6 separate regions of the Homo sapiens genome follow, and all the other regions are linked to region 2. Evidence: promoter capture Hi-C in 16 types of primary human blood cells and fetal thymus (Javierre and others, 2016). All regions are on one chromosome and are shown on one strand. The core of a region is centred on a gene start or on the middle of the fragment in contact, and the rest is flanking DNA. Distances in the headings are between cores, read along the strand shown.

Region 1 (3,099 bases), core at 577-3,076, 1.0 Mb after region 2:
CTTCTAGTCTTTTCTTATTTTGTATATTTGCTCTTTGCCTTTTTTTCTTGATTAGGTTAGTTATCAGTATATTGTTTTTCCTTTTTTCCCCAAAGAACCCATGTGTTAGTCCATTCTCATAGTGCTATAAGGACATACCAGAGACTGGGTAATTTATAAATGAAAAGAGGTTTCATTGACTCACAGTTCCACAGGGCTGGGGAGGCCTCAGGAAATTTACAATCATGATGGAAGGGGAAGCAAACACATCCTTCTTCACATGATGGCAGCAAGGAGAAGTACAGAACGAAGAGGGAGAAAATAGCCACTTATACAACCATCAGATCTCGTGAGAACTCACTCACTACTATGAGAACAGCATAGAGGTAACTGCCCCCATGATTCAATTACCTTCCACCAGGTCCCTCCCACAACACAAGGGGATTATGGGAACTACAATTCAAGATGAGATTTGGGTGGGGACACAGCCAAACCATATCAACCAGCATTTCGAATCATTAATTAGTTCTTTTTTTACTCTTTTGTATTACATTAATTTCCTCTTTTATCCTTATTATTTCCTGCTTTATACTTTCTTTTTATTTACTTTGTAATTTTTCTCGGTTTTTAAGTTGGGAATAAAATTTATTTATTGTAATTATTTTTTATTGATTCAAATATTTAATCCCACAGATTATCCTCAGATCACTGCTTTATTTCTCATTAAATCAGATGTGCATATTTTTATTCTATTATTGTTTTTTGAAATTCTGCAATTTTAGTTTGTATATCCTTTTTCACCCAATAGTCATCTAACAGATGTTAATTTCCAAGTAGAAGAACGTTTTTAAATTTTCTCATTAATTTCTACTTCATGGAACTCACTCAAAAACTTTCTTTGTGACTACAATGGGCTGAATGCTTATGTCCCCCTAAAATTCACATTGAATTGAAATCCTAATTCCCAAGGTGGTGGCATTAGGAGGTGGGGCCTTTGGGAGGTGATCAGGCCATCAGATATCTACCCTTATAAGTGGGATTAGTGCCCTTATAAAAGAGACCCCAGAGAGCTAGCTAGTCCCTGTCACTATGTGAGGACACAGCAAGAAGGTGTTGTCTATGAATGAGGAGGTAGGTCTTCAACAGACACCAAATCTGCTGGCACCTTGATCTTAGACTTCTTAGTCTCTAAAACTGTGAGAAGTAAACTTTTGTTGTTTCTAAGCCACCCAGTCTCTGATATTCTGCTATAGCAGCCTAGAGGAAGACAGTTACTCAACATGAGGTCAATTTCTGTGAACATTCTATTTGTGCTTAAGAAGAGAGTATATTCCCAATATTAGCAAGAGTGGAGGTTTCATATATATCTATAATGTCTACCTTATGAATTATGTTGATTAGATTTGAGTGTCTTTATTTTACGGTTTCCATTTGTCTGGAATACCTCTTTATTCTTAGTCTTTCTGAATCACTTTATTGTAGGTGTGTCTCAAATGTATCTCACAGAATTGAGTTTTGCTGTATGAGTCAATTTGAAAATATTTTTAATTGGGGATTTATGTAATTTATTAATAAGCTTATCAATAAATTATAATATAATAAATATAATTTAGTAATATGACTGATGTACATGGTCTCAACTTGTATTCTGTGTAAAATTATGTATATAATTTTTCTTTCTCAGTGTGGTTTATTTCATGTGATATTTATTTTTTGATATCTAGGAAGATTAATATCTTTGTTGCAGTGCTTACCTTTTTGCCACTACCTATTATAATGCCCTTAGTCTCTTTTCTCACATTTACTCTGCTACTTAGTGTTTTATTTGCTTCAAATTATATTCTTCATTCCCACCTATTGTCTATGCAACAATAGGTCACTTCAGTTTTGTCACCACATATAACAGTTGAACTGTTCTTCCCCCCATGACTCTGTCCTTGTTTAAGTTACAGATTTACATTGAAATATATTCAATGCTCACACAGTCCATTTTCCAGAGTTCTTCAGGTCCAGGTCCTATCTTGGTTAAATGATGTTTTTTCTATAGTAGGACCATTAAAGTTGGATAGTGATTGCAGTGTTCTCTGGGGTTCTGCACATAGAAAATCGCTTGATACTTGAAGCTTAGCTCATCTACATAAAAGCTATTCCACAGTTCCTTTAGTTTCCTGAAGATGTGACTGTGTTATTCTTTTACTTTAGATGAGAAGTCCGATTTTCTTTCCTATGTAAGTGATTTGATACTTTTGCCTGGAGATCTAGAAAAATTTTTTCTTTATCTTTAAATTACAATATTTTCCTAGTATATGTCTTGGACTTCACCATTCCAGGTTTATTTTCCCAGGGATACTGAGGAGCCTTTAAAGATGCAGATTCAAGTTTTCTTTTAATTTCAGACATTTCTCTTAGTCTGTGGTTTTAAATACTAGTGGTTTTCTATTGTAATGGCCTTCTTCTATCAATTATTTTCTCTCTGATCTCTTTTGCTTTGTTCCTTATTTTATTTTTATTCCCTTTTTTCATGGCTTTCCTCACTGTTTCATATTTTCAGTCAAATCTCTTTTTCCATGGGTACTTTATAACTTGGCCTTTATTTTTAAGATGATTTTGTCTTTTCCTTCCATATCTTTCCTGAGTTCACTCAATTCTTATTTCGCATTTTCCTGAAAAATAGGGTTTTTCACAAAATAATAGGGTTTTTTGGTCGTATTTCTTTTATAAAGCTTAAAACTTCTGATTTAAGGTTTTTGTTTTCTATCTTCACATGCTTGTTTTAGGATATTCAATTCAGTGTGGGTGTTCTGTTACAGTTTTCTTCCACCTCATATTTGATTTCGGTAGAAGCATTTTCATCTGCTGGAATGTTTTAATTCCTGTTTTTTTTTTTTAAGTTATTGGCCTTGTATGAGTGTCGTCTGCCATTTTCTATTCATTTTTAGATGTTTAAATATACAGTTGTAGATAGGCGCAGTCATGGCGTTTGATGACTGACCATGTTTCTTAGTTCAAGAGCACCCTCTTCTGTTGGCATGGGAAAGTGTAGTTTCTTCACTGACAGCAGCTTTTGTGGGGGAGGGGTTGGTGTGCCTTCTGAGCTTTGAGATCCACTTTTGCTTGGTA
Region 2 (3,392 bases), core at 532-3,031:
GGAGATGGGGTCTCGCTATATTGTCCAGGCTGCCTAGAACTCCTGGTCTCAAAGAATCTTTTCCAAGAGAGACTCTGTCTCAAAAAAAAAAAAAAAAAAAAAAAAAAAAGAAAAAGAAAAAAGAAAGAAAAGTATATAATAACTTGTCAGAGGTCCCACAGCTGGTAAATAGCAGAGTTCTGTTTTGAACCCATACTGAATCCAGAGCCTCTAAGTTCCTAATCATTACATGAGACTTCCTCTCTTTTTCTTAGTAATGAAGATAATAATCATTCCTATCATAAAGGATAATGGAAAATTAAATGAGAACATCCACATAAAATACTCAGTGCCTACCATGTGTTACCCTCCAACAATTGTAACCATATGAAGTACATAGCTGTTTGCAAGTTGCTTTGATTTGATTTGATTCATATATATTTTTTGAGACAGAGTCTCACTCTGTTGTCCAGGCTGGACTGCAGTGGCGTGATGACAGCTTACTGCAGCCTCAACCTCCCAGGCTCAAATGATCTTCCCACCTCAGCCCAGGTATGCAAGTTGACTTTAATACAATTGTGAGGAAAAGTGAACAGGTGCAAAATTATTTGAGACAGTTAATATTAAGCTTTGGGAACGGAAGCTACTTGTTACCGGACTTCTGATTGGAATCAGGGCCACACAATGCCTTTCAGCTCCCATGGTCTTTCTTGGCCCTCTAATCATGGATTCTCTCTTACACTCTTATTCCAGTAGTTTTCTGAGCTTCTTATTCTCTGGATTAGCCATCCCCTGAAAAAAGGCAACCAAACTTCCTAGTGTGTGTGTTCTACGTGAAGAAAGAAGATCATGTGTCTAGTTCCAGAACACACCCTCCCCACCCCCGGCCTCAACCAGAAATCCAATTCTTCCCTGCTGACCCCTTTGAGAGACCTGGAGGGACAGAGAATTGACGGTGGGTAAAGGGTAAGATGTTGGAGTTTAAGGGTTCAGGCCTGGACCAGGAAGCTGTCTTAACAGCCTAGTGTGGGGCCATGGAAGTGAGTTCTGAAATGAAGTGGAAGGCAGGCCATCCGCACTGAGATGCAGCAGCTGGAACACAAAACTCCAAGGTGACTGTTAACTTTTCCCCAGCCTTCCAATCTCAGACTTTCCTCAGGAAACACCAGGCTCTTCTGAATTAGTCGCGAGCAGAACCATCGTCCTTTCCTTCAGAACTCTGACCAGTTTGAAACTGTCTAACTTCTTAATGTGGCTATATGATCGTTTGCAGCTGGCCTGCAACTTGTTCTGGGAATGGAACCTTGGATTTTAGTCACCACTGTCGCTAGCATCCTGCACAGTCAGCCACTTTTAGAGAGCATAATGCAGAGGGGGAAATAAATGAGATTTGGAATAGAGACGGGGTTTCACCCTGCTGGCCAGGCTGGTCTCGAACTCCTGACCCACCCCGCCTCCCAAAGTGTTAGAATCACAAGCGTGAGCCACCGCGCCCGGCCCCACAAATGTAAGATTTATGCACTTCTCCAAGCCAAGTGCTGTGCATCGAATGGAGGAACTCGTACCTTTGCAGGATTTTGTGATATATGTGAAATAATCCGGACATGCTTCTGCTATGGTTGTTTGTCGCCATAGTTTGCGAATCTGGGTAAACCTGGATGAGAGAGACGCCTTACAATTGCAAACATTTCTCAGGAGGCCGCCTGAAAACGCCCAAACCATAGAGCTCAGTTCCTAGCTAGGCCTCTACCAGCCACTTCCGCTCGTCCGCCTAATACCGCGCCTGCGCACCGCGTCTCTTCCTTTCTGGGCTCGGACCTAGGTCGCGGCGACATGGTGAGTGTGGGTCTCTGTGCGGCCTAGAACTCTATCTGCCTGCATCTGTCCTTGTTTTCTTCTCCCGCACCCATCTCCTCTCCTGCCTTACCCCGTGTTCTCTCCTGTCTCCATGCCTTTGCAGGAGACACCATTGTCGGAAGCTCCCCAAGGCGGAGGGGCGGGGGCGCCTTGGCTGGGCCTGGCGCGCTCCAGCCGGGTTAACGCCGGGCCTTCGGAGCGCGCGGCCAGCCCTGGGCACTGGTTTCGTTGGGTTGAATTTAGGGAAAACTAGGTCATATGTAATTCACATGTCGGTCACACGTCAGTGAGGTGGAGGAACGGTGTGTGGAGGCTCCAGGGCCTGCCTGGGTTCCAGGTCTATCACTGGTTTCTCCCTTCACTCTAAACAGGCCAAACGTACCAAGAAAGTCGGGATCGTCGGTAAATACGGGACCCGCTATGGGGCCTCCCTCCGGAAAATGGTGAAGAAAATTGAAATCAGCCAGCACGCCAAGTACACTTGCTCTTTCTGTGGCAAAGTAAGTAAGGCAAAGTCTCTGGTGAGAGGAGAGGGAGGGCAGGTTTCTTACCCAAGTGAGGCCTGACTTCAAGGTATTTTATAAGCCGTGTGCTGGTGGGCAGTTGGAATTACTCATACCGTTGATTATGAGTTTTAAGATAAAAGTGTTGATGGTAACTTCAGATTTTGTGAGACGTTTTTCATTTAAAGAAAACCGCTTAAACGTTAATGGGTAAAATAATCATTTGACAGAGTGCCCCCAGCCTAAGCCAAACCTGCTTTGTGGGAAATGATTCCATCAGTTTTGTCTACTGATGTTTCTGCACCAACTCCCAAGATGTCTGTGCATCTAATACCATTCTACTTGTTCTGCGAGGGATTTTTGTTTGATAAAGGTTTGAACGTTTATGTGCAAAATACTGCATTACAGCAATCCCTGTTTTGTTTTTGAGGGAGAAAGGGAGGCTTTCACATCCCTGACAATAAGGTGAATCCAAATTTAGACTTCTGGATGCTTGTAAGAGAAAATACTTACTTGGTTCATAGTGAAAATTGGTTCTCTTTTATAGACCAAGATGAAGAGACGAGCTGTGGGGATCTGGCACTGTGGTTCCTGCATGAAGACAGTGGCTGGCGGTGCCTGGACGTACAAGTGAGTCTAGTTCCTTGTGGTATTTGGAAGTGTGTGGACCACATAGGCCCAAATTCCAGGTTGCTGCTGGATGGGCTAGTTTTAACACTTTCTCAGGACTGAGAGAATAAGGATGCCTTTGTATTTTCAGGATTCTTCCGTGGTGGTTTATTTTCAGTTATTGAAAGAGTAAACACAAAACTACCAAAATAGAAGTCGGAAATCTAATTCACAGACTACTTTAGAATTTGATGGTCACTGGGCACATTGTTGTGAACATTGTCATGATACTGTGCAGGTCCATTAGTGGGGCTGAATCTACTGAACGTTGATTTGCACTGCAAGTTTTGATAAAAATAGGTGAAGGGGTCAGTTAGTTCAAAACTGTATTTGGAACTTGAGGCCATCAGGACCACCACAGTTTCGTCTTTCTGAACAGTATTA
Region 3 (3,397 bases), core at 319-2,818, 1.2 Mb after region 2:
CAGCCTCTGTTTGCCTCCCTTTGGGATCTGCCAGCTAATGGCAGGAGTTCTTCTCCCAGGGAAACAACACTCCTCCCTGCTCATTTGTGTCTCATCAGAGGGCTAACTGGCCTGGAGGGGCTCCAGGCTCCAACCCGTAAATGGCAGCCCACGATGGCAATGGACGACTTTCTTAATTGCCCGTGATGCTTGCGGGTGCAGTGCAAACACAACGGTAGCTATTAGGCTGCGAGGCCTGAAGCAGGGTTACATTTTGCGCCTGTGTGAATTTAGTGTTCCTGGGAGTTGAGAGGCCAGAGTGGGTTGGAGCCACCGAGAGGCTGTTATTATGGCCTGGCATGAGCCTGCCGTTAGCTTCTTGAGACCCTGAGGCCATTTCACCACACTCCAGAATTGCAACCCCCTTGAATTTCCAAACCAGGGACCCTGGGCAGCAATCCCCCCACCACACACACACACACATGCACACACACAAACACACACACACACACACACACACACACACACACACAGAGTCATGCTTCTTCTTTCTCTATTCTGTCTGTCTCTGATTTATTTTTCTTTCTGTCTCTTTCTCCTCACTCTATGGTTTTTCTCTCTCTTTCACTCTTCCCCTCTATCCGTTTCTTGCTTCCTCCCTTCTTTCTTCCTCCCTTCTTCTCCTCTCTCTGCCACTCTCCTAGTTCATAAGCTCACAGCAGCAGACCTAAAGCTGGACAATGACCAGCATCACCTTCACCTGCCCAACCACCAGCAGTAGCCTTTCTCCTTCTCCAGCCCAACCCCAGCCCAGTCTCTCCCTTTGGTCTCCATCCAGCCCATTCCTTCACAGTTCTGGGTCCCAACAGGAACATTTGTTATGTATACGTAACTCTAAGGCTTTGAGGAGGCTGGAGGGGTTTAGCAATGAGCTTTTTGTTTCTTTTGTTCCCCTCTGTTTGCCCCCTCATAGACGCCCATGATAACCAGCGCTCAGCCTCTTGTTTTCTGCGTTGCTGGCTTCAGCTCACATGAGGGAAACTGAAGATCCAAAGATAGCGGGAGTACTCTACATCAATACATCAAAGGAAAGGTGCCCAAATGCAGGACTCCTCCATAGCTTAAGGCACAAAACTTCTCCTCCGTAGGCCCAGAATGGAAGAACATGGGTTTGAAGCCTCCAGTTGTGGGTGGCACTTGAAGGAATTTGGAGCAATGACAGAAGACTGTGTGATTTCCTCTTGAGAGGAGAAGTGGGCCAGGAAACAGTGGTAAGACACTGCTTTATAAATGGCTTAAAATATCCTCATTCAAATAGTTCTTCAGAACATGTTGCTTGGCTCAATGTTTATGGGTGAATAAATGAGTGAGTAAACAAATAAGTGAATAAATGAATGACTAGAAGGCAATTACGTTCCCTTTCCTAGAGATTCCTAGGAATGAAAATCATACTAAATCTGGATGATCTCTCCTTAAAGTAAGGGAATGCATAAGGTGACATCAGCAGGGCTCTCCAACAGGAGGAAGTAGCAATCCTCCAGTAGGTCCCCTCCCCTGGTGGCACCCAATTCCTTTGTGTATTAGTCTCCACTAATGATCTCAATTGACCTTCCCACCAATAAAGCATTGGAGATGAGGAAGCTGTGACGTTATGAGGATGAAGGCATTTCCAACTCTTTCACAGTTTTCATCCAATAGCACAACATCTTCTCTTGTCCTTCATCTCAGCCAGGACCATGAGAGGCTCCCAGGTGACCCCACATGGAACAGTAATGCAGATGCCTAATGCTTTTGTCCTTCTTATTTTGTCTACCTTGCCAGGTGTAAGGGCACTTTCTGACTGGGGAGGAAATATGAAAGTTCAGCTCCTTTGCATCTAGTTGGGACAAACTCTGAAGCATAATTTGCATTCTATCATGCCTCTGCAGGATCAAGGTAAAGTTTATCCTCCATGAGTTTATAACAGAAATTTCATGCTTGCTTGACTTCTTCCCCTTTTCTTTCCTGCATGCCCCACTCTCTTTCAAGTTTCTCCTAGGATCATTTTGTTAAAAAATCACTTGTGCACTAATAGTCATCTCAAGGTCTACTTCTGGAAAACTGATCTTAAATAACAGAGTGCTCAAACTAAAATGCCTACTAGAGTCTGTTGTGAGGAGGTATAGAAACCTCACACTCTACCCATCTTAGTTTGTTTCATGCTTCTATAGCAATACCATACACTGGGTAATTTATAATGAACAGAAATTTATTTAGCTTGTGGCTAAGTCCAAGGTCAAGGAGCCACATCTGATGAGGGCCTTCTTGCTGCATGATAACATGATGGAAGGCATGACATGTGTGTGAGAGACAGAGAGAAGGAAGCTAAATTCATCCTTTTTTAAGAAACCCATTCCCAAGGTAACAATCAATTGATGAGGGCCCTGCCTCTAATCATCTCTTAAAAGTCCCACCTCTCAACACTGCTGCACTGGGGATTAGGTTTCCAGCACATGAACCCTTGGGGAACACATTCAACTCACAGTGGCATCCAAAGACAGCAGCCGCTCCCAGTGGGAATGGCAGCCATACTGCAAGATAGCCTGACTTTTTAAAAATGTTTAACAGAATCCATGGTTTCACATATCTCTCCATTTTTAAGTGTGAAAAACATCTGAGATCTTTTTTAACACACTGTTCAAGCTGAGCAGAACACATCCACAGATGGGATTCATATTCCGACTACTAGATTTCAATCTCTGCATTGGTGGTTCAGATTCTAGTGAAGAAATGATTGGAGGTGACTTCCAACACCACCCAATCAAAAACTACCAAGTATTGAAAAGGGCAGAAACATGACCCATGGTATCATGACAAATCAATTAACCAAAACCAACTTGAAACCTACACGGATGTTAGAATTATCAGACAAGGAAATAGAAACAGTTATTATAATTATATCTGTATATGTTCAAAAAGTTAAGTAGAAGATATTTTAAAAGATCCAAGTCAGACTTCTACAGATGAAAACTAAAATGTCTGAGATGAAAAATACACTGACTAGAATAAATGGGAGATCAGACATTACAGAAGAAACTTGAAGACTCAGCAATATGAGCTAGCCATGAGGATACATAAAGATAAAAAGACATTATAGAAAAACTAACAGAGTATCACTGAGCTATGGGACAACTTCAAGCAACCAAATATATGTGTAATTGCAGTCATCAAATTTGAGATGCAAGGGAGAACAGAAAAATTATTTGAAGAAATACTGGTTAAATTTTTTTCCAAGTTTAATGAAAACTATATACCCACAAACCCGGAAAACACAATGAATGCCAAGCAAAAGAATATGAGGAATATCACACCTCATAATCAAATTGCTCAAAACCAGTGATTAAGAGAAAATCTAAAAAACAGCAAAAGAAAGGTACAT
Region 4 (3,242 bases), core at 493-2,992, 1.7 Mb after region 2:
ATTTTTTTAGGCTTTGCTCAAAAAGAATGATGGGAGCTTTATAGAAGATTTAAAGGAGAATGCTCAGAAACCTTTATAGTGAGCAGAATTCAGTAATTCCTCTAATTCAGGACATAAGAAGGGATAAGTAGGAGAGAGACATAAATGCCCAAATGGGGAATTGGGGCCAGGCACCCTGGCTCACGCCTGTAATCCCAGCACTTTGGGAGGCCAAGGAGGGCGGATCACTTGAGGTCAGGAGTTTGAGACCAGCCTGGCCAACATGACAAAACATATGTCTACTAAAAATACAAAAATTAGCCAGGTGTGGTGGCGCACACCTGTAATCCCAGCTACTCAGGAAGCTGAGGCTGGAGAATCACTTGAACCCAGGAGGCGGAGGTTGCAGTGAGCAGAGGTGGCACCACTGCACTCCAGCCTGGGTGACAGAGCGAGACCCCATCTCAAGAAAAAAGAAAAAAATGGGGAATTGGATCCTAGGGTGCATTCAGGAGTAAAAACCCCAAAGTTGTTAATGAGAAAAGAAGATGAGATAATACAGTTGCCAGAAGCCCTTTCTGGATTGATTATTGACATTCTAGAAGCTTCCTTAGAGAAAAGATAGAAGAAAATTTTTTCTAAAGGGTTTTAAGAATAGCTCTTAAAACCTGTCTGAATGAATTGATTATGTTTTAGTGTCTTGGGTTGTCCAGGCAGTAACTCTGAGGACTTACCCAGCCGGCTTGTTCTAGGATTCCAGACATTACAGCAGTCTGACACTTATAGGAGTTCTGTTTTTCCTTGTACTGCTAACCAATTCCTGATTCAGGGAATTACCGCAATCCTAAAACCTCTCCCAACCACAGCTTCAGAGTCCGATCTCTGACTCCACCTAGGAGAAGAACTAATTTATTGATTACCTTCTATGAGCTAGGCACTGTGCTATATGCCTTAACATGGTTTCATTTCATTTCTGTGACAGATAGTGGATCTCATTTACAACTGAGAAAACCAGGGCTCTTGAGGATTGGGGGTGGGGGTAGATATTGAATAAGTAACTACTACATATTAAGTAAGCACCGTGCAGGCATCCTTCACTGTGATTCTTGACCTTGTTTATCGTATGGCACACAGAACATGATTGTATTTGTATGGCACATTTGGGTAAATGGTCTAGCCTCTCAGAGATCCTGCCACCTGCTGCCTGCCCTAAGGGATATGGGGATCATTACCTCAGCATATCTATAACTTAAAAGACACCGTTTGAGAAACTTTGCTGTACAGTAGTCCCCCCTTATCTGTGGTTTTGCTTTCTGCAGTTTCAGTTACCTGCAGTGAGCAGTGAACCATGGTCTGAAAATATTAAATGGAAAATCCCAGAAATAAACAATCCATTAATTTTAAATTGTGCACCATTCTGAGTAGCATAATGAAATCTTGCGCTGTCCCGCCCAGGACATGAATCATCTTTTTGTCTAGCATATCTACAGTGTGTACGCTACCCTCTGTTAGTCGCTTAATAGCTGTCTAGGTTATCAGATTGACTGTCACAGCATTGTAGTGCTTGTGTTCAAGTTACCCTTATTTTACTTAATAATGGCTCCAAAGTACAGGAGTAATGATGCTGGCAATTTGGATATGCCAAAGAGAACCCATGAAGTGATTCCTTTAAGTAAAAAAAGTGACCTTGGTGTTTCTTTGCTACAGTTCAGTGCTATCCACACTTTTATTTATCCACTGGGTGTCTTGGAACATATCCCCCACAGATAAGGGGAGACTGCTGTACTGCTGGACATATATCATCTCAGTCTTCACACCAACCTGGGAGGTAGATGTTTTGTCCCCATTTTGTAGAAGAGGAACCTGAGGCCCGGTGACATTTGAGGAGCATTGCCTGTGGTCACATAGCCAATAAATTCTGAATTCTAAATAACTTGCTTTTTCTCACCCCCAGCATCTGAAATTTTAGCAGCTGGTAGAACAGTAAATAATGTAACTATTAATTCTGGGGGCCTATTTAGTGGAACACTTTTCCTGGGCCAGTCTTCCTCCCGCTCCTTTGTAATTTTAAACCACAGAAGTAAAATAACAAACGCCAGGTCTTGGAATTGAGAAGCAATCTTGTGATGGTATACTTCACGCTCAGCAAACTCATCGTTAAGGCACTGAGTTCTCGGACCTCTAACTCCCAGAAGACTTCCCATGAAGTCTCCTTTGGCCTAATACTCTCCTCAGCAGCCATTCTCTCTCTTCTAGCCATAAATAGTAAACTAAAATATTAATGAATGTGATTTGACAAATATTGCTAAGTCAGACAGCAGACCACTTAAGATCGATCGTAGCAACTTTTCCCACAAGGATCTGTGCTCAGGATACTTTATGCCTAGAGAAATTTGAAATTAGAGACTCAAAGTGTGTATGACTTGGAGCCCAAAGGTTATTTATTTATAGTTGGTTTTTCTCAGGTCTTTTGACAAAGTAGGAGAGTGAGGAACTCAGCCCTTCTTTGGCTGAATTAAAACCTAAAGGTTAAAAAAAAACTTACTAAGTGATGTAATAATGGGCTTTTATAAACTCCCTGACTCTTCAGCACAGTCAGCCTTCCCCAGGAAAGTATGCTTCCATGCTTCCTCCCATTGGTCATCCTCTTAATATTTCATTCAGTTGGTCCATGATTAACATTTCCATATTTTTGTTCTTTGCTCTTGTTTTCTAGAGGTGAGGAATGGTATTGGACTCGTTGCCTTTGTTTCCTGGCTACAGTTTCAAAATGAAGGCTCAGAAGCAATTTAAATTTTCATCTAGTTTTTTCCTTCTATTCTGAACTCTCTGCTTCTCCGTAAACCCACTTGATACTTCAATTCGTAGAGATACCCAGTGCGCTTTTCCTAAGTCACATATAGGGCTTTGAAGAAGCAAGGTGAAGCTTTGTATGATTCGTATAGGTTGATTTTTCAGCAGGGCTAGCATGCTTCATAGAAGCCAGTTTTTTTGAAAGGTATTGTCTGGCTTCTATATCAGCTTTTTAACACTCATAAACCATGTTATATATTCCATTATTTCCCAGCATCCCTGGAGAGCAACTTAGTCTTCGTTTCTTTCGCAGGTAATGGAGCAGAGATCGTGGAAAGATACGTACTTGATTAAGAGGTCTTGAGCAAGTTAGACAAAAATAAATGTGAAAACATGCGCATCTTGTTTGCTAGCCCCTAAAACAAAGTGGAATCATTGAGTTTACAGGTAGCTAGCTGGTAAGGCAATAG
Region 5 (3,081 bases), core at 45-2,544, 1.3 Mb after region 2:
CCCCAAATCACTCACATGCCTGCCCCCATCAGCCCTGAACACCCAACCCCAGCCTGCACAGAAGACCTGCAGCCTGGAAGCAGGCAGGCTCGGAGCCCTGCAAGGGTTGGGGGTTGGCTCTGTCCATCTTTGGATCCCCACCCCCAGCCCTGTCCAAGACATTTGTCCTCAAAGGAGCTTTATTTGGTCTTCTCTCCATTTTTGTGCAAGCCTAGTGAGAAGCCATGGCCAGCAAGAGGAAGCAACAGCCACCTGCTTGGAACTCATTTGAGAGGGGCTGAAATAGGCCACCTGTTCCCAGGCTTCCCTCCCACGCAGTAGGTCACAGAGTCTGGCCACTAGGAGAAGGTCCGAGAATGTTAAGGTTTGAAGAGACCTAAGAGCCTAACCTTCCAGCGGAAGCCTCTGTCCCTCCAGGCTGGGGCAAAGAGGGCTGACCCCAGGTGGCAGCACGCGGGTCACATTTGATTCACATGATTTGGCCTCTGGTGAGCCTAAGCGCTGTGGAGCAAGGGGTGGGAGTTCCCACTCAGGAGTAAGACTGCCGGGATCTAAATCCCGGTTCTGCCACTTCCTATCTGAAAAACACATGCCTCAGTTTCCTTCTCTATGAAACACAGCCCCATCGCCAGGCTGAGTGCAGACTCTTTGGGGCAGATCCTTCACCAGCCCATTTTGCAGATGAGGAAACTGAGGTGAATGAGCCGGCACTGTGACCCCACGTGCTTCATTCTAAGCATAGAGATCTTGCCGCTTCAGCAAGCCAACTTCCTTCCCCAGGGAAGGCTGGGAAACAGTAACTGGAGAAGGGGGCAGGAGGGTCTCTGCCTGGGTGCAAGGCTCAAGGCTGGCCAGTCCTGCCATTCTTCTTGCCTCTGGTTTTTCCGAATTCTGCCTCTCCCTCTGGAAAGCCATTGCAGGCAGGGCACTCCCAAGCCTCGTTTACAAAATTATAAGCTTCCTTTGTCCCCAGTCTCCTCTGGTTACAATAACACTCATCAGCTCTCCAGAGCTTTCAGGGGCATGGAAAATGTGACTTCACTCCTCAAGGATTTCTGATTTAACAAAATGGCATTGGGGAAAGAAAATGAAAAAGAATGTCTCTGTCCATCCCTGATAGAAAAGGCAATAGGGCTCCAGCCTCCCAGCCCAGAGTCAAGAGCCAAGAGCTCCCAGAGGGTCCAGAAGGCACAGACAGGGGACCCTCAATCCCCCTTGGACCCCACAGACTGGAAATCAGCCTCTCTGGGTGGGGCCTAAGGGGAAAAGGGAGGGAAAGGGTCACTGAAGACAGGTGCCAAAGGCAGGAAATAAATACATCCTGTCTTGCCATTCCCCAATTTGACAACTTTATTATTCCTGTCCTTCTTTATTCAGTCAGTCCATCAGTCACTTGTCCTAAGTGCTTAAAATGAGTGACTCTGGTGTCCAACCACCTGGGATAGTATTCTGGCTCTGCCATCTTTCCAAGCCTCAGTTTTCTCATCTGCAAAATAGAGACAATGTAGTCTGGACTTTATAGAGCTGCTGTGAAAACTAATGAGATACCATGCTAAGGGCTTCACACCATGCCAGCAGATCAGAAGCTCTCAAGACATGGTAGCTCTTGGTGCTGTCACTCATGGGAATTGCAAAGCTTTGTCAAGCAGAGCAATGTGTCTGAGGCTGGACTGTTGGGAGTACCCATCTCATGGCACCTGCAGTCTAGAGACCCAGCCCTGGAGGCTCCTAGCTGGCCCATTACTTTAAGTCCTGAACACCAGGGCTAGTCTAATAGGTAGACTGGCAGGGTAAGGAGAAGGGCTTAGTGAGTGCTTGCTGCATACAAGACGCTGTGCAGGTGCTAAGGAAAATTCAGAAATAGCAACTATAAATCAAACTCCACGATTTCAGGTATATGAGAAATATAATTTTCAAAAAAATTATTTAAGTCAAGTTAAATCCATCTCTGAGCCCCCATCCCACCTGAGACAGCAAATTTTGTCCTGGTCATTAATGGAACCCGCCCATCCTCTCTCTCACCAGCATCACTGGAAGGGGTGCATGCGTGGTCACTGGCCATTTGTCCCCACTGGTTACACTGAGATAACTGATGCAAGGCCACACAGTACCCAGGAGCCCAGGGGCTCTGCTGCTTCTGTGCCAAACAGTGCCAGAGAAAGCTAGTCACAGACACATCACACTGTCAGCCCACTCTGAGGTCCTGCCCACCCTGGGCATTGACAGGGAAAAGGGTGCTCTGCCTCCGGGACTCTTCCCTCAAAGGCACTCACATCTCAAAGAACTCAGGCTCCCAGAAAGGAAGAAAAAAGAAAAGAAAGCAATTCCTACTCCCTGGCCTGCAGCAGCAAGTCTCCCAAAGCAGGGATCTCAAAGGAGCAGGCTGTTTACATGGGGGGAGTTGGGGGCAGTAGAGACAAAAATATAAGGATAACAGAAAATGAATCGTCGTATCTCAGAGACGGCCCCTCTAAAGAGGTGACTTCCAGGGGCTCCCAACAAGACACCTGCACCCCCTCCACCTTCTACCCCTACCCCATCACCCGCAGGCAGAGGAAGCAGCAAACCACATAGTGACATTTCAGGACTAACAAAAAGCCCTCCAGGAAGTAAATCAATCTCCCCCAAGCTTCCTGAACACCTACACTCTCCTTCATCTAAGGCAGATGTCCTGAAGAGGTCTCTGCTGAAAGGGATCAGTTGACTTATCACTGTCACCTTGCTGAGGCCAGGGCAACAGGGAAGATAAGTGTTGACTGGGAAGCAATACTTATCCAAGAAAGAAATGGGTATTTAATACCTACTAGGTACCACCAGGTGATTTCACAAACAACCTACCTGTTCATCACAACCACGCAAAATGAGTGCTTCATTCCCCGTTATTGATGAGGAAACAAAGGTCCTGAGAGAGGGGCCAAGGTCACAGAGCTGTATTATGACAAAGCTGGGAACACTCAGCCAATATTTAATAATAATACTATCACTTAGGGTACTATTATCATTCCCATTTTACAGAAGAGACTCTGAGGCACAGCAATTAAATTACCTGTAAGGGCCAAGAAGGGTGCCCCTGAGGCCTGG
Region 6 (3,529 bases), core at 128-2,627, 1.3 Mb after region 2:
GGGAGGGCCCACTTCTTGGTTCACAGACAGTGCCTTCTTCCTGTGTCCTCACATGGTGAAAGGGGCAAGGTAGCTCTCTGGGGCCTCTTTTTGTAAGGGTGCTAAACCCATTAATGAGGGCTCTACCCTCATGACCTAGTCACCACCTGATATGGTTTGGGTTGTATTCCCACCCAAATCTCATGTCAAATTATAATCCCCAATGTTGAAGGAGGAACCTCGTGGGAGTTGATTGGATCATGGGGGCAGATTTCCCCCTTGCTATTCTCTTTGATAGTGAGTGAGTTCTTATGAGATCTGTTTTTTTAAAAGTGTGTAGCACCTCCCTCTTTGCTGTCTTCCTCCTGCTCCAGCCACATAAGACATGCCTGCTCCCCTTCACCTTCCACCATTTGTAAGTTTCCTGAGGCCTCCCCAGCCATGCTTTCTGTACAGCCTGTGGAACTGAATCAATTAAGCCTCTTTTCATTATAAATTATCTAGTTTCAGGTATTTCTTTATAGCAGTGCAAGAACTGACTAATACACCACCCAAAGCCCTCTCCTCCTAGTATCATCCCACTGGGGATTAGATTGCAACCTAGGTATATTGGGAAGACACATTCGGACCGTAACATCTTTCTTCTCAAACTAGCTAGAGTGGGTTTTGCTCTGTACCAAAATCTGGACCATGCAGTTTTGTTCATGTGAACCTGGATATTGATTTTCAGCTTTTAGAATCAACCTATAAATAAATCACCAAAGAGAATATAAAGGCTATTAATTTGACAGTATAAGAGTGATAAAGACTGCTAGTTTTTAACCAAAATTATTTTCCTCTTTTTCCTGGGCACTTGAGTGGACTATATTTCCCAAACTCCCTTGCAATAAAATGTATCCATGTAACTCAGTTCTAGCCAATGAAATGAGAGAGAAGTGACAAGTGCCACTTCCAGGCCTGGTCCATAAACCTCTCCCATGTACCCTGGTCCATGCTCTTTGCCCTTTCCAGCTTGGCAAAAGGCAGATGCTTACCATGGAAACTGCATTGATTTTTGGTTGTATTCATAAAGCTTCCATCAGACTAAATCAATGAATGGCTTGCCAGTGCTGTTTTGTGAGCAATCAGTAAAGTTTTATTGTGTTTGAAACTTGTTTCAGCACCTATTAATAGCCTAATGAATACAGTTTAAGTAAAAGCACACATTAAAAAACATGAATATGAACAGGGAGAGAATAGGTAAAGGAAATGAACCTGAATAGCCTCAAATGTACAAAATGGGGACTCAAGATATATTTTTATAATTTGTGTGCAAGAAATAAAAATATGTTTATATAAAGTTCCTAAAGCAGTAGGTGAAAGGAAGAGCTTAAGTGAGTTAATTCTCATCTGTCACAGCAGGAAATGGCTGGATAATCTCTAAAACTGATCATTAAGGAACAGAAATGTATCATAGAAAAGAGAATCACAAGCAAACAAGACTTTAAAATAGAAAGTTAAAATTCCATCTGAATAATGCGCCTGGGATGAGGAAGCTCCAGATCAGCTTAGTGGGCATGAGATCTGTGCTGCTGCATAGGGCCCTGAACTTAAAGGGCTCCATGTCTAGTTCAATGTTCTGCTATCGACGTTGTGAAATTCTTAATGACTTTGCCTTTGAACTTGTGTTGTCTAAATGAAATCCAGTGGACCAATAGAGCCTGCTTGTGAGCAGATATGCTAAATAAGCTTGTTGGCTAATCCTTGCTGCTTTATGCACATGGAGCTGTTGGCAATGCCACATGAGCACATAATCCAGTGGATGCACAATACTTGAGAATCAAAGGGAGTGCAGGTAAGTGTATAACATCCATGACTAGGCAAACAGGGCACTGATAGCCCTTGTAGGCCAGGCTTTCTATTTGAACCAGAACCTGCTGTGAACTCAGAAAAAGGGAAATGGTGTTCCAAATGACACAAACAACCAAGGAATCCTATCATATTCTTTTTTACTCATGTTATTTTCCTTTGTGAGCCAACCATTTGGGCTAAAAATGATGGCATAGAAGGAAAGGGAGAAGTAGGAAAATCCATTGTTCTTTTTCCTTTTAGTCCTTCCTTACTCATTAGTAAGCTTAAGATAGACATCGTTGGTAGAATGTGTGCATATCAAGAACTAAACTAACACCACTATCATTAGGAAAATGCAAACCAAAACCACAATAAGGTATCATCTCACTCCAGTTAGAATGGCTATTACAAAAAAGACAAGAAATAACAAATGCTGGCAAGAATGCAGGGAAAATGGAACTCATCCATTTTGGTGGGTGGGGATGTAAATTAGTACAGCCATTATGGAAAACAGTTTGAAGGTTTTTCAAAAAATTGAAAATAGAACAGTGACACAAAACAGCAATCCCACTACTGGGTATTTAACCAAAAGAGAGGAAATCAGTATATCAAAGGGATACATGGACCCCCATGTTTATTGCAGCACTATTCAAAGAGCCAAGATATGGAATCATCCTAAGTATTCTTCAAAGGATGCACAGATAAAGAAAATGTGGTGTCTGTATACACAATGGAATACTATTCAGTCATTAAAAATGATGAAATAGTGTCATTTTCAGCAACGTGGATAGAATGGAGGTCATTATGTTAAGTGAAAAAAGCCAGACACAGAAAGACAAATATTGCATGTTCTTACTGATATGTGGAAGCTAAAACATTGATCTCATGGAAGTAGGAAGTAGAATGATAGTTACCAGAGGCTGGGAAAGGTGGGAGTAGAAGAAGAAAAGATGTTATTTAATGGGTACAAACATATCATTACATGGAAGAAATAGGTTATAATTTGATGGCACAGACAGCTAACTATAGTTAATAATAATTTATTGCATATTTCAAAACAGCTAGAAGAGAAGATTTGAAATGTTCCCAACAAAAGAAATAAATGTTTGGGGTGTTGGATATCCTAAATACCCCGACTTAATCATTACACACTGTATGCAGGTATCAAAATATCACATGTACCCCATAAATACAATGGGACTCCAAAAAGCTTATGAGAAAACATGGAATCAAAATATACACTTTATTTCTCCACATAAACTTTACCAAAGTCAAGACACTTTTGTAAGCTATGACACCAGCCATTTAATACATTTCTAAAGAACTGAGGGTCCTGGAAATTTAACCATGTCAATGCAGTCTTTTTACATTATTAAACAGAGAAAAATGGATGCCCTCTACAGATTTTTAAGATTAGGAAACAAAAAGAAGTCAGAAGGGGCCAAATCGGGACTGTAATGTGGATGCCTAATGATTTCTCATCAAAACACTTGCAAAATTGCACTTGTGTAATAAGAAAAATGTCACGGTGGAGAAGAACTCTCTAGTGAAGCCTTCCCAGGGGTTTTCTGCTAAAACTTTGGCTAACTTTCTCAAAACATTCTCATAATAAGCAGATGTTATCACTCCTTGGCCCTCTAGAATGTCAACAAGCAAAATGTCTTGAGCATTCCCAAAACCTGTTGTCGTTACCTTTGCTCTCCACCAGTCTGCTTTCGCT

Evidence for each region. The method cuts DNA at HindIII sites, captures the fragments that hold promoters and counts their contacts. A CHiCAGO score of 5 or more calls a contact.
Region 1: a fragment that was not itself captured here is called in contact with the fragment with the promoter of RPL37A in region 2 in 1 of 17 cell types (fetal thymus); the score reaches 5.8 in fetal thymus.
Region 3: a contact is called between a fragment that was not itself captured here and the fragment with the promoter of RPL37A in region 2, in 1 of 17 cell types (total CD4 T cells). The highest score is 5.8, in total CD4 T cells.
Region 4: a fragment that was not itself captured here is called in contact with the fragment with the promoter of RPL37A in region 2 in 1 of 17 cell types (activated CD4 T cells); the score reaches 5.4 in activated CD4 T cells.
Region 5: a fragment that was not itself captured here is called in contact with the fragment with the promoter of RPL37A in region 2 in 3 of 17 cell types (fetal thymus, naive CD4 T cells and M1 macrophages); the score reaches 8.7 in fetal thymus.
Region 6: a fragment that was not itself captured here is called in contact with the fragment with the promoter of RPL37A in region 2 in 1 of 17 cell types (total CD4 T cells); the score reaches 5.3 in total CD4 T cells.

The regions. Positions count from the first base shown.
Region 1 is chr2:217,507,943-217,511,041 of GRCh38, forward strand. All of the region lies in intron 2 of DIRC3 (disrupted in renal carcinoma 3), which reads right to left. Among named protein-coding and RNA genes, the nearest start is that of DIRC3-AS1, 230 kb to the left of the region's middle. RefSeq lists a silencer at 2,924-3,013. The HindIII fragment of the contact is 547 bases long and covers 1,554-2,100 here.
Region 2 is chr2:216,497,063-216,500,454 of GRCh38, forward strand. It overlaps RPL37A (ribosomal protein L37a), which reads left to right and starts at 1,782. Exons shown (of 4, transcript NM_000998.5): 1 at 1,782-1,815; 2 at 2,208-2,336; 3 at 2,887-2,969. The coding sequence starts at 1,813. It overlaps RPL37A-DT (RPL37A divergent transcript), which reads right to left and starts at 1,690. Exons shown (of 4, transcript NR_183317.1): 1 at 1,545-1,690. RefSeq lists enhancers at 1,199-1,288, 1,469-1,858. The HindIII fragment of the contact is 3,327 bases long and covers 606-3,392 here.
Region 3 is chr2:217,717,691-217,721,087 of GRCh38, forward strand. The region is part of intron 2 of DIRC3 (disrupted in renal carcinoma 3); the gene reads right to left. Among named protein-coding and RNA genes, the nearest start is that of DIRC3, 71 kb to the right of the region's middle. The HindIII fragment of the contact is 7,326 bases long and covers 1-3,397 here.
Region 4 is chr2:218,221,822-218,225,063 of GRCh38, forward strand. The region is part of intron 2 of ARPC2 (actin related protein 2/3 complex subunit 2); the gene reads left to right. Among named protein-coding and RNA genes, the nearest start is that of ARPC2, 6.3 kb to the left of the region's middle. RefSeq lists a silencer at 999-1,048. The HindIII fragment of the contact is 2,321 bases long and covers 583-2,903 here.
Region 5 is chr2:217,752,975-217,756,055 of GRCh38, forward strand. The region is part of intron 2 of DIRC3 (disrupted in renal carcinoma 3); the gene reads right to left. Among named protein-coding and RNA genes, the nearest start is that of DIRC3, 36 kb to the right of the region's middle. The HindIII fragment of the contact is 679 bases long and covers 956-1,634 here.
Region 6 is chr2:217,772,767-217,776,295 of GRCh38, forward strand. The region is part of intron 2 of DIRC3 (disrupted in renal carcinoma 3); the gene reads right to left. Among named protein-coding and RNA genes, the nearest start is that of DIRC3, 16 kb to the right of the region's middle. The HindIII fragment of the contact is 656 bases long and covers 1,050-1,705 here.